2 separate regions of the Homo sapiens genome follow, and region 1 is linked to region 2. Evidence: promoter capture Hi-C in 16 types of primary human blood cells and fetal thymus (Javierre and others, 2016). All regions are on one chromosome and are shown on one strand. Each heading gives the region's core, a stretch centred on a gene start or on the middle of the fragment in contact. The rest is flanking DNA. Distances are from core to core; before and after follow the strand shown. Region 1 overlaps PDLIM5 (PDZ and LIM domain 5). Region 2 holds the start of HPGDS (hematopoietic prostaglandin D synthase).

What was found. The method cuts DNA at HindIII sites, captures the fragments that hold promoters and counts their contacts. A CHiCAGO score of 5 or more calls a contact.
Region 1: a fragment that was not itself captured here is called in contact with the fragment with the promoter of HPGDS in region 2 in 2 of 17 cell types (megakaryocytes and M0 macrophages); the score reaches 5.1 in megakaryocytes.

The regions. Positions count from the first base shown.
Region 1 is chr4:94,583,757-94,590,482 of GRCh38, reverse strand. PDLIM5 (PDZ and LIM domain 5) reads right to left here. Exons shown (of 13, transcript NM_006457.5): 6 at 4,746-4,918; 7 at 4,039-4,075. Among named protein-coding and RNA genes, the nearest start is that of PDLIM5, 140 kb to the right of the region's middle. The HindIII fragment of the contact is 2,366 bases long and covers 3,609-5,974 here.
Region 2 is chr4:94,341,085-94,347,361 of GRCh38, reverse strand. It overlaps HPGDS (hematopoietic prostaglandin D synthase), which reads left to right and starts at 4,526. Exons shown (of 6, transcript NM_014485.3): 1 at 4,526-4,567. The HindIII fragment of the contact is 10,951 bases long and covers 2,140-6,277 here.

The DNA of each region.
Region 1 (6,726 bases), core at 3,542-6,041, 240 kb before region 2:
CCCTAGTACATTGATTAGTGCCTGGCATTTACATATACAGCAATTATGCATTTGAAAGAATGAATGCTGGCAATGAGTAAATATTTACAATTTATATGATTTTAAATACACATCAGAAACACAATAATTACAAAATTACATATCTGGAGGGAAAATCAATTCATTCTATATTTTTGAATAATTTTGAAAAAAAGAAGGAACTGCTACTCTGTGTCCTAATACCACAATTTGTATTAAATAAACTCTAAGATGTCTATCTATCTGAGCCTTCCTAAAGGGCACAATGATGCACGAAAGAATGCTTTTGTTTTCCACAAATACTGTAATTTTTGAGGTAACAAAAATACATTGGACCATGTGTGAGACAGTCTTCTGAATAAAACACTGTAAGAAAAAAATGTTGAGGCCAGGCATGGTGGCTCACATCTGTAATCCCAGCACTTTGGGAGGCCGAGGCACAGGCGGATAACTGGAGGTCAGGAGTTCGAGACCAGCCTGGCCAACATGGTGAAACCCTGTCTCTACTAAAAAAACTATAAAAATTAGCTGGGCAGGTGGTGCACACCTGTAATCCCAGCTACTCAGGAGGCTGAGGCAGGAGAATCACTCAAACCTGGGAGGTGGAGGTTGCAGTAAGCCAATACCGCACCATCGCACTCCAGCCTGGGTGACAGAGCACAACTCTGTCTCAAATTTAAAAAAAGGAAAGAAAGAAGGAAAAGGAAAGAAAAGAAAAGAAAAGAAAAGAAAGAAAGAAAGAGAAAGAGAGAAAGAAAGGTTGAAAACATTCTTAAGAGCAACTTCCCAATTTCACTTTAAAAACAAGCCTATAATGAAGAAAGTCTGTATAAGAGAGACAAACAAAAACAAGTCATAAATTAGGTCACTAGATTTACAATAATATTTTTGCAAGAAGCTTTTATAATTTTTGGCTAGCATTTAAGCTAGGAATATAAAATGTCCCAGGAGATTCACTGAACTCAGGAATTCATCTTCTGACAGGGTCAAATGGAATGTCCTTTATGATCCTGGCTGAATATTTATCCTCACACTCAAGTATGGATCATTCCATTTATCTAAGTCTATGCTTTTAATGAAACACTAAATACTTCATTTTTAATTAAGCAAGGTAATAAATTTTTATTTTAACTACATCTGTTTTAAGTTGTAACTCTATACATGTTCTCTTGTCTGTATTAGGGAAAATTTTTCCCATTTACCTAAAATTCTTTTGAGTCTTCTTTCTGTCAACTCTGTAGTTATTCTAGAAATTGGATTCTTGGTGGAAAATACCATGTTTACTCTACCACACCATTTATTTTTATGAGGCTTTAATTCCATCGTCTCTCAGACATCATCTTTTAGGATCCTGGAAGAATTACTGGGTATAGGAAAGCCTGGTCTAAGAAAGTAGATTTTCTTACAGAGGCCAGAGACACAGTTATAACTGGGATTGATGTCAGCATCATAAAAACACAAGCAGGCAGGACCTCTGTCTTAGTATCTGAAGAACTGATATGACAAAAGAAAGATGTCTTATATATCATGAGGTATACTAGAAATGAGCATAGATAAATCCTAGAATTATTTTTAAAATGCATTTGGCAGGCCAAATTTTATCAATCACTATCTAAAATTAATGTTAGTTTCTCCAAATTATCAAGCAGTTGTACTAGACTATAATGTCACTAATGTGAAAGAATACCTGGAAAAATAAAAATAGACCCTTGAATGTAGGCAAGGTCCTTCAGCGGTAATTTCACACAAACAATAATTCTATGTTGCACAATAGTCAACTGATTTTATGTTACTCACATAGGATACTACATATTGTAATAATTCAGGGGGAAAATCAAACATGATCCTTTACTGTGTCTTATTTATTTATTTATTTATTTATTTATTTATTTATTTATTTAGAGATGGAGTTTCGCTCTTGTTGCCCAGGCTGGAATGCAATGGTGCAATCTCGGCTCACCGCAACCTTCGCCTCCCGGGTTCAAGCGATTCTCCTGCCTCAGCCTCCCGAGTACCTGGGATTACAGGCATGCGCCACCATGCCCGGCTAATTTTGTATGTTTAGTAGAGATGGGGTTTCTCCATGTTGGTTAGTCTGGTCTTGAACTCCCAACCTCAGGTGATCTGCCCGCCTCGGCCTCCCAAAATGCTGGGATTACAGGCGTGAGCCACCGCACCTGGCCTGCCGTGTTTTATACCCATATTTTAGTAACCTCACAAAGTTAAAAATGATTTCCAAATGAAATGTCAGAGAATTGTTTATTTTACCCAGTTATACTGTAATAAGTCCTGGATGGCACTGTGTCTAGCCTCAAGGAAACAGAACAAGTACAAAGCTAAGTTAAAGGCAACTTTATTACAATACTTTTCCAAACTTCAAAATGCATTTATTACTAAATTTAGCTCTAATATATAATACACTATATTACAAGGCAGAAAGCATTTCTGGTCATATATTTAGCTTCCATGTATTGCCCAAAACACAGCTTCCTAGGAATAGCAGCAGTGCACAGTAGTTTACGTCACTAAGTAAAATATTTCTCTGATGTCTCACAATCATTCATATTGTAATTTATTTTATGTTCTTCTGATTAAAAAAAGCAAAGCTATCTTTTCCATATCTTATTAGTTAATACCTAGAAATTGTCTATATTCTAAAAATATCCACTAGAGATATTTCCTTTGATAGGAAATAGGATTTGCAAATCCAACCAAACCAAAGAATACTGTATTTCTCCATTGCAAATAGGGGTAAAATTCTCTTCTTTCCTTTTTCAGGAGCCAAATCTGGACCTCCTCCTCTTCATAGAGCCATCCTGAATAGTACCTACTTTAAAAGATACCTAAATCTACAATGCACGCACTCTTCTTTAATAAAGTCTTTGTTTATTCTTGCCTCCTTATATTTACTTATTTAGAATAATTTACAATCAACTTTGAATGTAACATAATAATGAACTTAAAAAGTAATCTTGGGAGATGTTAATAATATAAAGAAAGTATTTTCCAAATTAGACAAGGACTTTATTTGCTCATTATCCTCTGCTTCAACCAACCAACTAACCAAATTCAACTTATGAAAATAATTCGTTTTCCAAGATTACTACCCTAATCACAACAAAAACAGATACAAATCCACAAATAGATCTAGTCCCTTAATTTTCTATTTTTTTTTTTTTTTGGTTTTACATTTGTGAGCTACCAACTAGCACAAAACATGTTCATCTTCCTTTTCTCACAACAATAGGAAATTGTTAGAAAAGTATAGAAAAAGTTCTATTTTTTCATAAGGCAAATTTAATACAGATTTTGCTATGAAGTTGAAAAAAAAAAAGTAAATGAAAAGGTATGTGCTGGCTGCTTGGGGGGCAAGGCTCATAAATCACTGTACGTTAAGAGCACGTGCTGAAACTTCATGGTGCCAGTCACGTAATTTTGTGTATTTGGGACTAAAGACGTGAAGGGGTATCTTTTCCCTGTGGAAATACAAAAAAAAAAAAAAAAAAAGAGTGATAGAAGAGTCATAAGAAATAGAAGGAAAAAGGTTCTAGACTAATTCCATCATGCAGAAAACATGCCTTATAAAAGCTTAATTTCACATAGCTGTTTTATTAAGTGGCAAAAATTTTAAGGGTAGAGCATTTTTAGAAATATAGCAATTAATCCACAGATCCCTCTTGGAAACATACATTTTTATGTTCAAAATAAAGTGACTGCAAGACAACACACGAGCTCATTCACAGACATATGTATTGTTAGCAAAGCACCCCGAAATATACCCTTCTGCCCACTTCTTATTTCAATACTAGGGAAAACAAGCCTTAAAATCCAGACAATATCTACTACTTTTAAAATCTGCAAGTTGTACATTTAGGTCACACAAAAGGCACCAAAGTTAAATGCTTAGCTTCTAGCTGCAAAGACGAAATGCCATACCATTATACTTGACAATTTGAAAAACTAAATTGAGACCATTCGTGAAAGGAAAACATTCAATTGTCAAAAAGATAGAGAACTTACTTTGCCTTCTTTGTATTATCGGCTTCAGATTCTTTCACTGAAATATAATAAGCAATATCCAATATTAGTTTGTTTTGTTTAACTTCAAAATCACTTAAGCAATTACCTGCACCAATCAATATCAAATGTTCAACTTCCATGGAGCCACTAAAACGAATTCCATAGTAGCCTGTTATTGGCCATAAACTATAGTTAGTACAACTACTATTACATCTATACTTTTCAATGTTACTCTCCTGGGCTGGTGTTTTATTTATTTATTTATTTATTTATTTTTGAGACAGAGCCCCTCCATCACCCAGGCTGGAGTACAGTGGCGTGATCTCAGCTCACTGCAATCTCTGCCTCCCCGGTTCAAATGATTCTCCTGCCTCAGGCTCCCAAGTAGCTGGGATTACAGGTGGCTTCCACGATGCCCAGATAATTTTTGTATTTTTAGTAAAGGCGGGGTTTCACCATGTTGGCTAGTCTGGTCTCGAACTCATGACCTCATGATCTGCCTGCCTCGGCCTCCCAAAGCGCTGGGATTACAGGCGTGAGCCACTGTGCCCGGCCTGGGGTCTTATTTATATTACCCATGTTATGCACAGCATAATTTAAAAGCAAACTGTCTCGGGGTTGTTTTCTGACAACTACCAATCAGTCTCAATGCCACTCTCTGGGGCAAAAAAACATTCATCCATTAGGATACCTAGAAGTTCACTTACAATGTTCAGTCCCAGTGATCTGGGCAAGGATTCGGAAAGAGCGAGACTGAGTTGTTCCAGTCCTTGGACGCCAGTCTTCAGTATCCTCAATCAGTCTCTTCTTGCTGGCATCACTGTGAGTGGGTACATGATAAAACTCTGTATAGCGCTCCACAATGTGTTTTCTTGGTGGGCTAGGGTTAAGGAGAAAAAAAAAATTAAAAATTGTAAAGTTATATTAAAAGGATAAAATATCTTCTACTAAATTATTTATAATTTATATGATTAATCTTCAATATTCCTTTTATATAAACAGTTTGCTTTGCAAGTATATTCGGTCTCAAGTTTTTAAAAGATCTATCTAAAATAGGCGGGGCACGGTGGCTCACGCCTGTAATCCCAGCACTTTGGGAGGCTGAGGTGGGCGGATCATGAGGTCAGGAGATTGAGACCATCCTGGCTAACACAGTGAAACTCCGTCTCTGCTAAAAATACAAAAAATTAGCTGGGAATGGTGGCACGTGCCTGTAGTCCCAGCTACTGGGGAGGCTGACGCAGGAGAATCGCTTGAACCTGGGATGTGGAGGTTGCAGTGAGCCAAGATCGCACCACTGCACTCCAGCCTGGGCAACAGAGCGAGACTCTGTTTCACAAAAAAACAAAACAAAAAAACCTTTTAAATTATAAGTAAAAAACTGCACTTATAATGTTAATATAAAATAATGCTATTAGAATGTATTCAACAGAAAGATTACCGTTTAGGTGGGATTTTCCTTTTAATTGACAGAGGAAGGCAGCAGAAGAAAGATTTCCAACATGAAGAAAAAGGAAAGGAAAATGATAAGAAAAAAAGAAAACAACTAGAAAATGAAAGTCCATAGTAGTCAAAATCAAACTTCTTGAAATTATTTGTATTGTTCACTGTATGCCATACGAAACACAGATGCGGACAATATTCACAACGGCCATTAATATCAATATGCTGCTAGAATGTATTGGCTTTCACGAAATTAAATGATCAAATCTTCACTAGGCCCAGGAACCAAGTATGGTTTAGTAGAGGCTAAACTAGCAATTCCGAATACAATTTTGAAAAGGGTCCGAACTATTATTTCTACAGTTTTCTCATTCATATGTACAGGTATTCCTTCTCCTAAAGAAAGCTGTGTGTGGGATCAGCATAGTGAAGAAGAGGTATGGCATTATTAGCAACTACTGAAATATATATTAACAGATCAGAATTTAAAGCTTGGCTCTAAGACTCTTTAGAAAGTCAGTCTCTTGAATATCACATACAAGGTAGTGCTGTTCTAAGGATGTGTAAACTACAGAGTTCAAGAACTTTGAGTTTGCTAAGAACATTCATTTTTATTTCAAAAGGGCATAAATACAAAGGAATTTGCAATGTATATTTTAATACTATGATATATTGAGCATCATGAATAGTCTCCACTTCTCCCCCCTCAAAACAGGGCAAATGCAAATTTTTGGAGGCTATGAGTTTAATTTCAAAAGAGAAAAAGGAACATGAATCTGGACTAGCAGACTACTGGCACAAGATACGAGTACAGAAAGTGTTATAAATGTGGTCAGATGTGAGTGGCAACACCTGCCAGGTTCAACTCACTGTGAGAAAATCATAGTGCTATCCGCAGGCCACACGACTGTCATCATTTTAACAGTTACATAACCAAAACTGTCTCAGCACACTGGAAAAGCTTTTCCCCAGTGAAGAACAGGATAGAATTACAGTTAGTAACACTGGCTTTAAAATCAGATTCAGTGTGTGCTTTATGCAAGTCATTTCTCTAAGCTCAATTTCCTCATCTGAGAAATAAGACTTGCATCTTAAAGGGTTATTTAAGAACAAATAAGATAGATAATGTATGTAAAGTGCTTTCTGCAGTACATAACATGAGGTAATGATCATCATAATGTATTCTTTTATGATTACTAGAAAATCAACTGTAATACATGTTCTACGACTATGAATAATCTGCAT
Region 2 (6,277 bases), core at 3,277-5,776:
TAAATTACACTTTTGTTTGCATTTTCTTAGTACCTATAAATAGTAAGTCCATCCTGTGACCTGGGATTATCAGAATGGGTGGCCTTCCTTTGATCTGAGAATTTTGCCTTTCTTGCTAGACTTGGGGACAAAGGTAACTTGTGTACCTGTAACTCTCAGCCCATGAGCTCTGTGCCTTTTTGGACTTAGTTTTCATTCAATTATCATGTAAGACAGAGAAATGTCTTCAGGGGGAAAATTCTGTCATGAAATAATAGAGTAGGAAGTGACTTCAGAGGTCACCAGGACATCTCTTTTCTTTTCCAAGAACTGAGGTTCAGAGAGGAGACATGACTCTTTTGGGGAACACAGGACAGGGCACAGGCAAAGGTGGGACTTACTGCACAGTCCTTCCTCCTACAGCACAAGTTGTAATGGTACAGAGGTGACATTAATTGATTCTGAAAAAACCTTGAAAAACAAATTAACTTAATGCTTATTTTCTTCATTCTTGACAGAAGAAAAAACATAAAATCTTGTGAATGAGATTCAAATGTCTGAGAAATTTTCTATCTATAAATGCTTTCATGACAAGGCCCAGTCAGTTATGCAATTACACTCAAGGGTGCATGCACTATTTGTGATGTTGTTTTGTAGGCATTCAATGAGGTAATACAAGACAAGTGCTTGGTTCAATGCTTGGCCCACAGGAAATACTTAATGAATTTTAGCTATTTCTATTACTATTATTTGCCTACATATAGGAATCCTCTTTTAGCCAAAAGGCTAGGTAGTGAAAGATTTGCTCATAATCTTGGATATAATTACCATATCATTCTTCACAGTATCTGAAGAGGCAGACTTCAGATAATAGCATTATCATTATTGAAATCTGGGAAAACACAGACACTAAAATATTTGCAGGCATGTTTCAATTACTCAAGTAGGTTAGAAGCAGAAAAACATATTCTTTATTTCCTGTATTTTCAACCCCAGGTTTAAATACGTCACTTTTACATGTTTTTAGTTTTTCAAATAACTAACTATAAAAAGGAAAACTGTTTTATTAAATAAAATATACAAAAGTAAACCAGACCACTCTAGAATCTGAGCAAAGGAAGTTTTGTGGGCTTCTCCTGGATACTTCTCCCCTTCCCCATCAACAGACAAGCTAGAAAAGGAGAAATAGGTTTGTTTGAACACTTCTCTTTTACAAAAATAAATAAAGAGGAACAAATATGTGGGCCACGTTTTAAAAATTGTATGTGTTTTTCCATTACTTATCGAGCAACTGCTTGCTAAGCAAGGCACTAAGTGACTTAAATGCACAAACTCATTGAATCCTTTCAACTCTGAGTAGAATGATTTTTATCATCACCATTTTACAGATAAGGAAACTAAGGCAGCTGCCTAAAGTCCCAGAGCTTGCAAATAATGGAGTGGAGATTCCTCTAAGAGGTCATGATTCCAGGATGAAACTCTTTAATCACTATCTTGTATAGTCACATTACTACACAGGTGGGCAAATAAAGAAAACAAGGACAGAAATGGACTATGATTTAACGTTGGATTTTTAACAGCAGTTAGGAATTTGCTAATTCAATACCACAGGATTAAAAGTTTTCCAACTAGGAAGCCCCAGAGAAAATGAAGACATATTTATTAAATTATAATAGGCCTTTAAATGACTGTGTGGACATGATCATACAACTTGACACGTTTTTTCACGGGTATTTCTCATGCAGTCCAGTCTGGATCCACAACATGCTCCTGAAGGGTGTGTGGCATGAAGAAGTCACTGCCCTGGAGAGCAGGGAACTGAGAGGTAACAATCCATGAGGGGTTTTCACTTTGCCCTTGCCCTTTTCCTCCTCCCTATTCCAGTAGACACTTGGCTCCGTGCTCATTTCCTCAGAAGAGGATGAAGCAGGGTGAAAAATGAAAGTTGCCTGACAGCTACTTCTCTTTCTGCTGTTAGTGCCCAAACCCAACCACAGAAAAGGAAAGAATTCTTGAGCATAGATTCTTGAAGGGAAACGATTTTCCCTTCAGGTGAACTGCTAATAATATTAACAATTGCTCTCACTCATGGATCCCTAACTATGCATTAGGCACACTTTGAAGCACATATCTGTGTACTCATTTAATTCTGTAAAAGCTTATGAGAGAGTTATTACTAATATTGTTAGAATGCTCCATGAAGATTTGTTTTTGTCTGATTTTATTTAGTGCTATATCTCTATTTATTTACTTATTTATTTTTGAGATGGAGTCTCGCTCTGTCGCCAGGCTGGAGTGTAGTGGCACGCTCTCGGCTCACTGCAATCTCTGCCTCCCGGGTTCAAGCGATTCTCCTGCCTCACACTCCCGCGTAGCTGGGATTACAGGCGTGGGCCACCACACCTGGCTGATTTTTGTATTTTTAGTAGAGATGGAGTTTCACCATGTTGACCAGGATGGTCTCCATCTCCTGACCTTGTGATCCACCTGCCTCGGCCTCCCAAAGTGCTGGGATTACAGGAGTGAGCCACCGCGCCCAGCCTTATTTACTGCTATATCTCTAGCGTTCAGAACAATACCTGGCAAAGATTAGGAACAAATAAATATTTATTGTAGAATCAATCTCCATCTAAAGGTGAAGGAGCTCAGGCACAGAGAGATTAAGTTACCTGCCCAAAGGCCCACAGCTGGTAGAAGACTAGGAGAGTTAGAGCACCCCCACCTGGGCTGGGAGAAGAGACAAGAGGATGGGAAAGCTGTGCTTCCCGAGTAGAGGAGATCTGGGACCCTCTCCTGGGACCCTCTTGTGCCTCCAGGGAGGTAGAAAGACCACAGAGAAGAAGTGGCTCTGTTGGGTACTGGGCAGGTGGAATCTCAGGCAGCGTTGTGATGAAACCACCACACTGGGGCAAGAAGGTAGCAAAATGAGAATGCTACAGGAGCTGCAGAGAGCTCCTGGCGTGGAGGCCATGCACACAAGGACAATGGATGCCTCTAGAGCAGCCTCTGTTGATCGGTGACCAAGGATCAAGTGGCTGCTCCTTCCCCAATCCTTGATGTGTTACTCTGCTTTCCTCCAGCCAAAACAACTGGTCGTAAAAGATAAAATTGTAATACAAAATGAGAAAAGTGTTATTTTTTGTATACTTGATTTTTTTTTAACTGAAGCAGTCTCGTATTATATATAGGCAGCATTATGTAAGGAAAAATATTAAATGTGTCATCAGAAGGCCTAGATTTTAATCCTAGCTTGTCCCAACAAAAATTCGCAGGCAATTTACCTAATTTCCCTATGTCTCAGTTTCCTCATTTATAAAAATAGGGATTAAAAATCATTGAGGTGAGGATAAAAAGATTTTTTTGAAAATATAAGTTAAAGCTGTCAAAGATAATAAATGCATTGTGTTAATTTTGTATAGCTCCCACTCCCATCCCATTTGCACTTGATTTTGACACACATGTATCCTTTTTTGGTGGGTAAAGGGCTACACTTGCGTCTTCTCTTTTTACATACTAGTATTTACATTTATTTTCATTTCTGACGTTTATACTAAGTGGATGTAAACATATTTTTCAAAATTAAAAGCACTTTAGAAATAAGAAATATTAAATGATTGATATGTTGCTATTGTTGCCTGTGGGAGTAATTTTCTGGAAGTTGAAAGCCAGCTGGTCATTGAAATGTTTCATGGATAATCCTCAGGCTCAGTAAGGCCCAGGCAGGCATTTTATTGGATCTTTTCACTGAGCTGTCCTAATATTATAGATAAAAATAATTCCTGCACTAAGAAGTGAAACAATAAATTTCTAAAATGTCAGGCATTTGTTACTAAATTGTAAAAGGATCACAAACAAGATGAATTGGAAACTTCTACACCAGGTTTACTTTAAACACTTTGGCTTTTCTGAGAAATGAGAGTAAATGAAATAAACCAGCAACAATGCAAATTTACAGTCCTTGCAAAAACGTGAACTATAAATTAGGGTTATTCTATCATCAGATGTATATTAGTGGTCATGACATGCCTGGCACTCCTCTTAGAACTGAGGAGACAATAGTGAAAAAGACAGTGAAGTGCCTGCCTTTACAGAGCTTACATTCCACTGGGAGAAACCAAAAACAAACAAGTTAAATACACCACATTGTTAGACACTGCCTCGAAGGAACATACAGCAGGTACAGGAGAGACTGTTTCTAAAATAGAGAAGCAAGTCATGTGCACATCTGCAAAGATGATTTCATTACATTCAGGTTTTCTTATTCTCCAGGAGCCTATGGTGTAAAACTGAAAATAAGTGAACATGTAACAGTGGGCATACATATGCAGCTATAACTTTGACTTTACCTTGTATACAAATGTGTTGGTTTATTTATACCCAGATATCCTGTATAACCAGCAGTCTTCGCAGGCTTGAACTGCCTGGCATGCATGTTTTATCTAAGAAAAGAAGGAAGAGCGTTAGGTAGAAGGAAGTTGCCTGTCCTCTCACTGGCTCGTGATTATCACTTACTCGTCATATAAACCCAAGGCACAGTCACATACCCAGGGATACAAGACACTGCAGACTCCCGAGAGACATAACACAGGTAAGTCATATTACTGAACTCCACATAGGTAATAAATGAGATATGCTTTACTCTTTACTTCAGAGTTTTTATTATTCTCATATCCTGTTTGTGACTAACTGTCTTGTGAGCTATTTTCATGATGGTGCTCACTCTGACCTTGTCTTACCCAGAACCTCTCCATATATGCGAATATGTGAAACTCAAATAGTCATTTTTAAGGAAATATAGGTACAGGAGATTTAAGAAGATCTCTTCAAGTGGATTTTAACATAGAAAATATAATCAATGCTAGAGGAAAAATCCTGTCTTAATCAGGGTTTGTTACTACTTCCAGAATTTTCCCAAGTGATTCTTCAATAACTTGGATTGATGGAGTAGAGAATATTATCTCATGGCTGTTCAATTTCTTTCCTTTGCTTTAAAGTTTAAGACTTTTACTGGTAATATTTTATATTATTTTAAGGCACATTTTGTTGAAGCATCTCCATGTTTTGATAAGAATTGCAACCTATCATCTTTTGGCTTCAGAGATGGTTTAAGGGATTTACCCCAGGCCAGGAATTTCAACTCACAGCTCCCAAAGGATATTTCAGTTATTCCTCTTGCTTTGGCTTTAATGTGAAACAGTCACTTAAAATGACATTTAGTTGATATTTGATAAAAAAAAAAAAAATAGAGCTTTCAGCTTGCTAATTCAAAGTTAAACATCCAGTGCTTGATTGAAATCAATATCTTACTCAGTCAACAACAATTCTTCTATTTCTCTATTGTCCTATAATTTAACTCCAACCTGGCAACTTTTCCAGAATTGAACTTGAAATGCCCAGGGACACTGTGAAATGAGGGAAATTAACATTCTTTACCATCAAATGTTAGGGGTAATAAAAAGCTGTTTTAATGTCAGTATATGCAAGAAGTTCCCCTGTGAACAATAGTATCTCACATGATTGCTGTCTGAATCCAATTTTTACATTTCAGAACACCAGGGTCTATATAATAGGAGTGTAAACATGCTCTAGGCCATTACATTTTGTATAAGTTTATTACTGGGCAAGTTAAGATCTGCATCTTAAACTCAAAGAAGAGCTATAGCAAATTCACAAGTAATCTTTGTTTTTATATCTCTAACTCAGATTATTGCGCAATTACTAAGCATGTAAAAAACTGTGTCTGGAATGCCCAAATATGTTTGAATTCTTGATGTGTCGTATTTAAGAGTAAGAGCTTACGTTGGCTAACATTTTGTATTGAACTGTAGAATGGTCAATACTTAATTCCTCATTTGTAAGTTTTCTATCTAACAAAATTATTCCAAAAGTTCTCTTTTTTGAACTAAAAATATTTCGGCTGAAGTCTTTATTAAGATGTTTAGTATAGGCATTGGATATTGATTAGCCTGTGTTGTCAGAGAGTTGAAATTGGATTGTTGTCATCTTTCTGGCACAGAGACTAGAATTTTTGAGACTATTTTTTACTGTGCTTTTACAGCAGTATACGGAATAATATATTGTTAAATTGTTTTATTATAAAAGTTTGTAATTTTTTCAATGATTATGTTAAAATTGCCTCTGGGATTGAATTAATCAGATGAAATAAATCAGCATTGTATTAGTTAGTTTTCACGCTGCTGATTAAGACATACCTGAGACTGGGTAATTTATAAAGAAAAAAAAGTTTGGCCGGGCGAGGTGGCTCAGCCTGTAATCCCAACATTTTGGGAGGCCGAGG